Linked DNA regions of Homo sapiens: regions 2, 3 and 4 are each linked to region 1. The links are contacts of gene promoters, found by promoter capture Hi-C in human tissues and cell types (Jung and others, 2019). All regions are on one chromosome and are shown on one strand. Each heading gives the region's core, a stretch centred on a gene start or on the middle of the fragment in contact. The rest is flanking DNA. Distances are from core to core; before and after follow the strand shown. Region 1 holds the start of SH3D19 (SH3 domain containing 19). Region 2 overlaps SH3D19 (SH3 domain containing 19). Region 3 overlaps SH3D19 (SH3 domain containing 19). Region 4 overlaps FHIP1A (FHF complex subunit HOOK interacting protein 1A).

Region 1 (2,735 bases), core at 16-2,515:
TAAGTGCTTCAAATTACAGTTTCTGACTCCAGAGCCAGTGGTCTCTCCACTTCCCCTAGTTGCCTCTCTACAAATAATCACGTATGGGTCTCTTTAACACATTTCTTCCTGTTCTTCTAGGAATTGTAGCCATATCCTAGCCCTAAATGAACTGGAATACAGTGAGGCTTGATTTATTATTAAACATTTTTATTAGACTTTTTTTTTTTTTCGAGAAGGACTCTCGCTCTGTTGCCCAGGCTGGAGTGCAGTGGTGCGATCTCCGTTCACTGCAAGCTCTGCCTCCTGGGTTCAGGCCAGTCTCTTGCCTCAGCCTCCCGAGTAGCTGGGACTACAGGCGCCCGCCACCACGCCTGGCTATTTTTTTTTTTTTTTGTATTTTTAGTAAAGACGGGGTTTCACCGTGTTAGCCAGGATGGTCTCGATATCCTGACCTCGTGATCTGCCCGCCTCGACCTCCCAAAGGGCTGGGATTACAGGCATGAGCCACCGCTTCCAGTCTTACTAGACTATTTTTAAGAACAGTTTTAGGTTCACAGCAAAATTGAGCTAAAGGTACAGAGATTTCCCATGTACCCCCTGCTCCCACACATGCATAGCCTCCCCCATTATCAACATCCCCCACCAGAGTGCCACAGTTGCTACAATTGATGAACCCACATTGACACCTCATAATCACCCAAAGTCTATAGTTTACATTGCGGTTCACTCTTGGTTTTGTACATTCTTTGGGCTTGGACAAAGGCATCCGCTATTACAGAATCATACGCATAGTAGTTTCACTGCCCTAAAAATCCTCTGTGCTCCCGCAAGTCTAGGTTTTTAAGGGCGAAAAGAGAGGGAAAGAAAAAAGTGTGCATTGCAGAGGCTCGACCCAACTCCAAGCCAAGTTTGTTCCAAAGTTCAGCAGCTCCCAGCTGTCCCATCTCTCCCAGTTCGGCCCCGGTCGGGTTCCTCCTCTTTTTGTTTAAGTGTCAAACAAATGGGTTTCCTGTTGACACTGGAATATCGTGAAAAGGCAGGAAGAGGCCAGGCCACCTCCTCTTTCCCCTCTTCCTATCCCGTTTATTTATTTTGCACACGTTTGTTTGGGTCGAGCTGGTGTTTCCAGCGTGTGTGGCTGTGGGGCGGCCTTAGGGGCCGATAACCCCTCCCTGAGGAGGCGAGGCCAGCCCCGAACCCGCCCGATCCGCGGTGGAGCTCTACGGGGCGGGGAAGGCAAAGAGGAAGGGGGAAGAGAGCGGGAGTGGGAGTGGGAAAGGCCAGGGATTAAGAGGCCGCCGGGACGCCGCAAGGAGGCGGGGAATCGGCTCGGCCCGCGCCCTGCCGCTGCCCGGCCGGCTGCAGGTGGAGTTCGCGGAGGTGGCCATTTCCACAGCCGCCGCCGACGCCTCCTCTCCGGGAGCCGCCTTCCCCCCGGCCCGAGGGCGGTGGCGTGGGGCGCCGGGTGCAGGCGTTCTGGGGCGCCGGGGCCGCAGCTCGCTGGCCATCCCGCGGCTGCGCCCCGCGCCTCGCCCATGGCTGAGGGCCGGCGGCGGGAGGACGAGGAGGAAGAGCTACGCGAGCGCCGCGAACTTGGTGGCCAGCGCCGCGCCCGGGGCCGTGCGCTCTCGGGCCACTCGGCCGCAGGTGAGAGGCGCGGGGGACGGGGCGGCGGGGACCCAGAGCTGCGCGCTCTGGGGCCGCTCGGGTCCTGCCCCACACAGCGGCAGCTCCTTCACGCGCCGGGATGGGACCGGCTTCTTTAACTCTCAGAGGCCAGACTCGGGGAGGGTGGCATTTCCATCGCCATCCTCACTTTCCGGCCGAGCCCGAGGAAATTCAGACCCGTCTTTAACTGCTAGTGGTCGTACAGCTGAAACTCAAATTTTCCGTGCACACTAAATCCAGGAGCTGCTGGCTTGGGACTTGTGGCCTGGTTGATGACTTATCTCTGGATGAGTCAGAGGTCAATGGCCGTCTCGGTGGACAACGACACCTTCCGAGGGGTTTGCCTGCGCCGCCGCAGCCAGGTCAGAGCACGTGCTCATAACTGAGGCAAGTCCTGTTTCGGCGTCCCTTGCACTTCGGACCTGTGACCCCCCTCCCTCCCTCCCCCAGCCGCCGAGCTCACCAGTTTTCTGTAGGACTTGTTTTCGTTAGTTGTGAGACCCTCCCCCACGCAAAGAGAAGTCCAGAATATAGCATTCCAAAAGGCCATTCATTTGGGCTGAGAATCATTTTCGGGCCTGTAATTACTTTTATGATACTGTGTTTTGGGTACACAAAAGCGGCACGGATCAAATAGTTTGGCACATTAGTGAAAGAGTGAATAAGTGTAGATCCACACCCCTTCCCTCTTCCGGGCGGCTTTTCAATCAAACATAATAGAGAGGACATTCTTTGGCCTTTGGTTCCAACTGGGTAATCCGAGTTATCTGAAAACAAGAGGGAAGAACAAACCTAGGGGGACTGGCAACAAAAGGGAGATAGGGAAGTGAGAGAGTCGGAGGAGAACGATTCACTGAGAGCCTCATTATAAAGTGGAATATAGCGAATATTCCATGAAGTGGAGAAGCTTTTCTGTGTGACTCCCTTAACCACTAAGAGAAAGTTGGAAAAATAGAGAAGATATTGTATCTGTGCGGAACAAATGGAGGGTAGAAAGTAGGATGAAAGGAAAACTTGAGAAGAACATCTTGAAGAAATAGTCAATTTAATGCCTTTGGTAGAATCTTGGAACATAAAAATAATTC
Region 2 (2,700 bases), core at 99-2,598, 97 kb after region 1:
CCATTTCTACGTAAGTGGCGTAACACCTAAATACATAAACATTGGAATCATATGTCTAGATTACATAGAACCAAGTTGACATGAAAGGAAAATGTGGATAATCTGGAGTTCTTACACAGAATCCTTGACCCATGATAGCATCCCACCACTCCCCTAACTGTTCTTCAGTCCCCTTGACATACCATGGGTTCCCCCATTGCATCCCTCACATCTCCCCCACAGCATTTATACACACACAACCAATAGTCTTTGTGCCAGCTCTGCCTTGTTTTTTGTTTTTGTTTTTGTTTTTGAGACAGAGTTTCACTCCGTCACCCAGGCTGGAATGCAGTGGCGTGATTTTGGCTCACTGCACCCTTCATCTCCCGAGCTCAAGTGATCCTCCCACCTCAGCCCGCAGAGTAGCTGGGATTACAGGCGTGCACCACCACGTCCAGCTAATTTTTTTGTACTTTTGGTAGAGATGCGGTTTTGCCATGTTGGCCAGGCTGGTCCCAAACTCCTGACCTCAGGTGATCCACCCACCTCGGCCTCCCAAAGTACTGGGATTACAGGTGTGAACCACTGCACCCAGCCTCTGCCTTGTTTTCTGTCTTTGTTCTACTTACAGAGTACTTTTCTATTCCTCAGTTAGCCTTATTAACCATGAGGCATGGATGAGAGGGACAGGGAATGGAAGAGCGGGGTGTGTGTGTGTATGTGTGTGTGTGATACATATCTATAAAACCATTACATGGTTACCCAGCCATGGTTACCCTCACACTGAGTATATACTGCTGGTCTTTGAGTGACCTAAACCATCATGCTCTGCTGGGCAGGCCCCTGGAATAAGTATATCATCCACAGCAAATGTGTAGCATTTGGCAAATTTTAGAGTTAAGGCATTTTATTTTTAATAACTCTTTTTTTCATAGAAATGATGAGACTTTGGGCTAGAAAGTTATTCATATGATTTCTAAATATGCAGAAGTTCAGAAAACCTTTAGAAATATTCTCCCCCAATTAATTTGAAAATTAGAAACTAAAAAATTGGAAGGCTGAGCACAGTGGCTCATGCCTGCAATCCCAACACTTTGGGAGGCCAAGGCAGGAGGATCGCTTGAGTCCCGAAGTTTGAGACCAGCCTGGACAAAATAGGGAGACCCTGTCTCTACAAAAAAAAAAAAAAAAATTTAATTAGCTAGGCGTGGTGGCATGTGCCTGTAATCCTAACTACTTCAACTACTTGGGAGGCTGAGATGGGAGGATCACTTGAGCTCAGGAGCTCAAGGCTGCAGTGAGCTGTGATTGCACCACTGCACTCCAGCCTGGAGTACAGAGCGAAACCTTGTCTCAAAAGAAAAAAAAAAAGAAAAGAAAAAATTCAGAGAATGTGCTGAAGAGTATTTGATTTAAAATAAAATCCATACACTTAAAGCACTATATATAGCCAAGATTAAATTTCCATGTTTGCTATAGATCTGTTCTCATTCTTGGGCTTTCATCCAAATGTTTTGTTATTGTTGGCAAGAAAGCAGATTCTGAATCCACCCTCAGTGATTTGTTTTGTTCAGTCTTGGCTTTTGGAACAAAATAATAACCACTTATTATTTTGCCAAAAAATTTATTTCTACTAATATATTTCTTGACAATTGCACAATAATCTTGACTATCATGAAAATTACTTTAAAATGTAAGTATATGAAAAAGTATAAGTATATAAGACACACAGATACGCAACACACACCCCATTATTTATATGTATTTAAGCTAAAAGATGGCTTTATGGCAAAATGTGAAATCCAAATATTTGTATACTTTGAGGGAAAAGATCAAGCCAAGAACATGTGTTTCAATTTGTTTTTCATGGTCAAGAGGTGAGGGATGGGAAATATTGTGAGTAATGGATAATTTACCCTTACCCTCAAATTATCAACTATGTGAATTCTTAGGAGTAACATTTTATAAGTACTGCGTATCTATATTTACACAGGAATGTAACACAGATAACACTAATAGTGAATTTGGGGGGAAAATTTTAAAATTTCCCCCAGCAGATAATCAAGTCTTTTGTTGAATTTTAATTACTGGTTCAATAGAAAAGTGCTATGAGAAGACATTTGTATTTTCTTAGAGCAGAAAGTATAAAAATGACTGTAGAATTTCCTGTTTTAACCAAGAACGAAGGAGAGCTGTGAGCCATTTGCTTCCTGAGTGGCCACATTCCAGCTGTGCAGACTGGTCATAGCACATCTGCCAATCAGAACAGGCCCTGGAGGGAAGCCCTTGGATACTGAGTCTTGTTTACATGCATCGTGACTCTGTTTCTCCCTTCCTCTTGTGTGTTGTACCACTAGGAAGATTAGTGGGGAAATTTGCTATTACATGCCTAAGTAAACTATGTAACTAGGATCACAGCCACAGGAAATGATGTTCTGGACAGAGTTTTAGCTCGGCTTTAGCCACAGGTAAGAGTTGTTGCTTTGTTATATGAGGATAGCTAATCTGTATTCAGTTTCTGGCTTTACTTTGAGACATTATACTTCATTTTTGTAGCGAAGCTAGCAGGCTAAAAACTGGAGAATGATTGAGAGAAATGATTTAAATGTGCCCTGCGTTACTATGACTTTAAAATCTTAATACTCATCAAATGAAAAACATGATATTTTCATTTAAGGGAGGGGTAAAACCAAGTTAAATTAAAACAGAAAAGTTTTAAAA
Region 3 (2,700 bases), core at 154-2,653, 120 kb after region 1:
CATCTATAAATGGAGCTAATTAAAGTACCTATCTCTTGGGGTTATTATAATTATTTAGTTGCTTTATCAGTCAGGGTTCAACCAGAGAAACAGGACCAGTAGGAGATGTATATTAAAGAGATTTACTGGCCGGGCATGGTGGCTCAAGCCTGTAATCCCAGCACTTTGGGAGGCTGAGGCGGGCGGATCACAAGGTCAGGAGATCAAGATCATCCTGGCTAACACGGTGAAACCCCGTCTCTACTAAAAATACAAAAAATTACCCGGGCGTGGTGGTGGGCGCCTGTAGTCCCAGCTACTCGGGAGGCTAAGGCAGGTGAATGGCGTGAACCCAGGAGACGGAGCTTGCAGTGAGCTGAGATCATGCCACTGCACTCCAGCCTGGGTGACAGAGCAAGACTCCATCTCAAAAAAAAAAAAAAGAGATTTCCTGGGGCCGGGCACAGTGGTGCATGCCTGTAATCCCAGCACTTTGGGAGGCCAAGGCAGGTGGATCACCTGAGGCCAGGAGTTGGAGACCAGCCTGACAAACATGGTGAAACCCCATTTCTACTAAATACAAAAAACTAGCCAGGTTTCGTGCCGCATGCCTGTAATCCCAGCTACCTAGGAGGCTGAGGCAGGAGAATCTCTTGAACTCAGGAGGCAGAGGTTGCAGTGAGCCAAGATTGCACCTTTGCACTCCAACCTGGGCAACAAGAGTGAAACTCCATCTTTAAAAAAAAGAGAGAGATAAAGATTTATTGCAGGGAAATATTTATGTGATTGTTGGAGCTGATTTAGGCAAGTCAGAATTTCGTAAGGCAGGCCATCAGGAAGGGCAGGCTGGAACTCTCACCCATGGAGTGAAGCTGCCATCCACAAGTGGAATTTCTTTTCATTATGGAAGCCTCAGCTCTGCTCTTAAGGCTTTTTAACTGATTAAATCAGGCCCACACAGATTTCATAGAATAATCTCCCATACTATACCCTGATAAAGTCCCATCAACTGGTGGACTTTAATCACACTGACATAATGCCTTTATAGTGACGTGTAAATTAATGTTTGATTAAATAACTGGAGACTGTAGCTTAGCCAAGTTGACACATCAAATTGATTATCACAGTTGCTTTGGACCTCAGTTAAGCAGGCTAAACCCACTTGGAAATGATTTTCAGTGTTATCTCTGCTTTTCAAGGTCAGGGCTCTTCAAGTCTCTGTAACCCAGAAGTTCTTTCTGACATATCAGTTTGATGTTTGTTAGTTTTGTCATAAGAAACTACAATTGCATTATTATTGTCCTAAAGAATTCTCTCAACTCAAGCCAGGGTGTGTGGTCATGGTGGGATTCTGTGAAGGAGCATAAGCCAGCATCTGCATAAACACCTTGATCCAGGCGGTATTTGCTCTTATACATTTGTGCTATCCCTTCGTGCTTGGAGAAGCACACTATTGTTACATATGCCTGCTTTGTATGAACTGGTAAAGTCTGGAGTTGATAGGAACTGTTGAGTAGTCCCACAGGCCTCTGTCATAGTGGCAAAATATTACCTTTGGCTACCTGAAGAAAAGATACAGATTTGGTCCTCTCTTTTCACTAGTGCTAATTTTTCCACACAGTGATCAACTTCCTTTAGGGAAGCTCATTGCATTTCTTTGAGCATAACCTAATCTCCTCTCATTCTGAATGCAGGATGTCTTCTTTGCCCTCTAACTCAAAGTAGGAAAAGATAGGCCACTCAGAAGTAAAATAGCTAATGGTAAAAGCATGATAAACTGTTAGGATACTTCCTGGTGGCCTTGGGTTTCAAGCTTTTACCAATCACTCTGGAAACAACTCCTGTAATTGTTCCTCTTGTAGATTCTCTAGGCCTGCATTTCAGTGTTTAGTTTTTTTCCATAGCTTTGAACGATGAGGTGGTGATGCACTGCTACTAAATCTTATCTCATGCATCCCTGAGAACTGCCTCCCAAGCCTCCAGTCTCAGCTGAAAGAAAGGCACCTATGGCCAGGTTTCCACGTGGTCCTACCCCATTTGGCCATAGCTGATAGAACTCTATCCTATAAGGTATGCTAATCAAGTTTTTTCTCATGAAAGTTTAAACTAAAAGACAGAGCTGACAGCCATGGTTTCTGGAGGTTTAAAATTATTTAGATTTGGGCTTGGTAGGATATGCATGCTGATGAACACTGGCCAGGTATGCCAGTGAATGAGCAGGGAGTTCAAGAGAAGACTGCAAAAACTGAAGCGGAGGTGATGTAGTCCCAAAGAGAAAGTGAGGAAGAATGAGAGCATGCACGAGAAGCTGCCTTGTTTCCCAGCACTGCCCAAAGTTCAGCTGCACTTCCTGTTCATACCCATTCCCAGGATACCTTTGTATGCTCATAATAAAAACCCCTTTAATTTAATTCAAGTTTAAAGGGGTTTCAGTTGTTTTAACCTCACAAGTCAATGCAATACCATTAGAGGAAATAATGATAACAATACCGTAATTTAGAAATGAAAGTCACATACCTAACATACTCATGTTGGTTTTAGGACTACCAAAACTATAGCCTTGATTCTAGAATTTATTTCCATATAGATTAGGGTGCCATGAATATATTGAGAAAATAGAGTAGGGTAGTACTTTACAGTATTTATGGAGAAACAAAAGCCATGCCATATAATATGTTGTATGAAGAGGGAAGTGTATTGCTTGTCTTATGAACACTGACA
Region 4 (2,805 bases), core at 128-2,627, 110 kb before region 1:
ATAGGGGGGCTTCATGCAAGTGAGGGCTGAGAAGCTGGCGTAGTCAATTAGAAAAGTTGGATTTGAATGGGTGAAGAAAAACAGCCTAGTGAACAGAGGGGATTTAAAGCAGAAGCAGGACTGCATTCGGCGACACTAAGGAGGAGGCCTCAGCTGAGCAGATAACTGACAAGGGGCACTAGTGTGAGATGGAACTGGATGCCAAGCTGCAAAAACTGGGAATTTGCTTGGAAGCAATAAGGAATCTCCAATGGAACTAACATGACAGAGGAAGCATATCAGGCATACCCAACAGAAGCTATGATTTTGTAATAAATTTTGGTAACTTGAAGCAATTTCCTGGGCAGTTGGCCAGTTACCCCCAGTTCTCTGAGAAGATTCAGCTCCATCTACCTTGTGTGACACTGTACTGCTACTGTTTGTGTACCCAGGGCCATGATGGTGGTGACTATCCTAAATCCCCTTGAAAATCACTGAATTTTTCTGTTCTAGGTGTGGCTGCCAACTTCTCTAGGAGTTTGCTCTTGACAACATGGAGGTAGTGTCATTGGTGGAGATAAGAAAAATCATGAAAGATAGTTGCTTCAGAAAAGAACTGGAGATGACTAGCTACTAGAAATTGTCCAGTAGACAATTGAAAATCTATTTGTTTGTTCATCCAACAATATTTTTGAGCCCCTACTTGGCACCTACTATGTGTCAGGCACCTGAACAAAAAAGACAAAGACCCCTGCTTTCATGAAGCTTACTGACATGGTTTGGCTGTGTCCTCACCCAAATCTCATCTTGAATTGTAACACTCGTAATCCCCACATGTCATGAGAGGGACCCAGTGGGAGGTAACAGAATCATGGGGGCAGTTCCCCCCCATTCTGTTCTCATGATAGTGAGTGAGTTCTCACAAGATCTCATGGTTTTATAAGTGTCTGACACTTCCCCTGCTGGCACTCATTCTCTCTCCTGCTGCCCTGTGAATAGGTGTCTTCTGCCATGACTGTAAATTTCCTGAAGCCTCCCCAGCCATGCAGAACTGTGAGTCAATTAAACCTCTTTTCTTTATAAATGACCCAGTCTTGGGTATTTCTTCATAGCAATGTGAGAACGGACTAATACACTTACATTCAACATGGAGATAGAGACAATAAACGTAATAACTAAATACATTATACAGTATGTAAAAAGTGCTTTAGAAAAATACATAAAAGGAAGAACAAAGATTGCTAGTAATTTATAAGAAAACAACAACAAAAACTAAATGAAGCTAGGAGAAGTGATGAGTTCCCCAGAGAGTGGAGTGTTTGGTTAATGCCTTTTCCAGTTCTAAAATTCTAAAGGAATAACCCTAACATTCTTGCTTAAGCAGAAGGTAAGATCAAAGAGTCACAGAATTGTTGTGGCTTGAAAAGATATCAGAACTTGGAACTGTCATCTTACAGATGTCAACTTAGACCATCATGTTACAGAGGAGAAAATGTAGAACCACCAAATTTAAGAAACTTCATCTTAGAACAAAAGACAGCTGGGGCAGAAGGGGGAGTTCCAAAACTCTAGCTTTTCATTAACTTCTACTGAAAGCAGAAGCCCTTTCAGTTGCTTTGGAAGAGGCTCAAATCCTTCTAGGGGTAAGGTAATGAAAAAAAAAAACTTTTTAAAATTATACAAATAAATGGCTTAAGCCACATAATAGCAATAATAAAAACAGCAAACACTTATATAGCACTTACTTTGTGTCAGACACTATTCTAAATACTTGTCATAAATAATAAACTCCTTTAGTCCCCACAACAACCCTTCCCCAAGGAAGACTCTGGAGTCAGTCCTTTTAATGCCAAGCCATCCTCTTTTAATTATTTATGCATAACTTCATATAGCACAATCTTTATTGTTAATTAGGAAACTAGGTTCTAGATTTTTCATCTGAGTCTACCAGAATTGAAACATATTTATATGTGGAAAACGCAACCGTTTAAGCTTCATTTGAAGAAAACATGCTTTAAAATAAAAGAAAACTTGAAACTATATAATATAATCAGTATTATGCTGAGTACACGGGTGTTTCATTAATTCAATAAAGTGTCCTTAAAGATATGTTTTCAACTACATACTACTTCAAAAGACACTTTCAAGACCCTAACGTAACCTTTCTTTTTTAAACAAAATTCCGGAGGCTGAGGTGGGAGTATCACTTGAGGACAGAAGCTCACGCCCAGCCTGAGCAACACAGCAAGACCCCATTCTCTACAAAGAATTTTAAAAATTAGCCAGGTGCGGTGGTGTGTACTTGTAATCACAGCTACTAGGGAGGCTGAGGTGGGAGGATCACTTGAGCCCAGAAATTGGAGGCTGCAATGAGCTATGATCATGCCACCGCACTCCAGCCTGGGTAACAGGGCCAGATTCTTGTCTATTAGGTTGGTGAAAAGTAATCACAATTTTTGCCTTTAAAAAAAAAAAAAAAAAGGCAAAAACCGCAATTACTTTTGCACCAATCTAATATAAATAAATAAATAATTCTGGTGAGGTAGATTTTTTTGTTTTGTTTTGTTTTTTTGTTTTTTAGTTAAACAAATCCCATACTTTTGGTTTTCAGATGAGGGAAAGGGAGAGAGAAATACAATGAAAAGAATTAAATCCTTTTTCTGGTTAGTGTAGTGTGACAGGTGCCCCGCTAGGTTACTAGTATGTCCACTGCCTGAATCCTGCAGGCCAGGCAGTGAGCCAAGGCCATGGTGCCCGAACCAGAAACAGGTATTCCTGAGAACGCAAACATCTCGGAGAGTATCTAAGAACCTACCAAGGAAAATA

What was found. Contacts are between HindIII fragments. The study calls those that stand out against the background at their distance.
Region 2: a contact is called between a fragment that was not itself captured here and the fragment with the promoter of SH3D19 in region 1, in 2 of the 25 tissues and cell types used here (aorta and hippocampus).
Region 3: a fragment that was not itself captured here is called in contact with the fragment with the promoter of SH3D19 in region 1 in 2 of the 25 tissues and cell types used here (hippocampus and stomach).
Region 4: a fragment that was not itself captured here is called in contact with the fragment with the promoter of SH3D19 in region 1 in 2 of the 25 tissues and cell types used here (mesenchymal stem cells and mesendoderm cells).

The regions. Positions count from the first base shown.
Region 1 is chr4:151,324,135-151,326,869 of GRCh38, reverse strand. SH3D19 (SH3 domain containing 19) reads left to right here and starts at 1,265. Exons shown (of 20, transcript NM_001378122.1): 1 at 1,265-1,629. The coding sequence starts at 1,518. The HindIII fragment of the contact is 31,894 bases long and covers 1-2,735 here.
Region 2 is chr4:151,227,507-151,230,206 of GRCh38, reverse strand. The region is part of intron 1 of SH3D19 (SH3 domain containing 19); the gene reads left to right. Among named protein-coding and RNA genes, the nearest start is that of PRSS48, 48 kb to the left of the region's middle. The HindIII fragment of the contact is 5,786 bases long and covers 1-2,700 here.
Region 3 is chr4:151,206,404-151,209,103 of GRCh38, reverse strand. The region is part of intron 2 of SH3D19 (SH3 domain containing 19); the gene reads left to right. Among named protein-coding and RNA genes, the nearest start is that of PRSS48, 69 kb to the left of the region's middle. The HindIII fragment of the contact is 4,994 bases long and covers 1-2,700 here.
Region 4 is chr4:151,438,261-151,441,065 of GRCh38, reverse strand. The region is part of intron 1 of FHIP1A (FHF complex subunit HOOK interacting protein 1A); the gene reads right to left. Among named protein-coding and RNA genes, the nearest start is that of FHIP1A, 30 kb to the right of the region's middle. The HindIII fragment of the contact is 5,665 bases long and covers 1-2,805 here.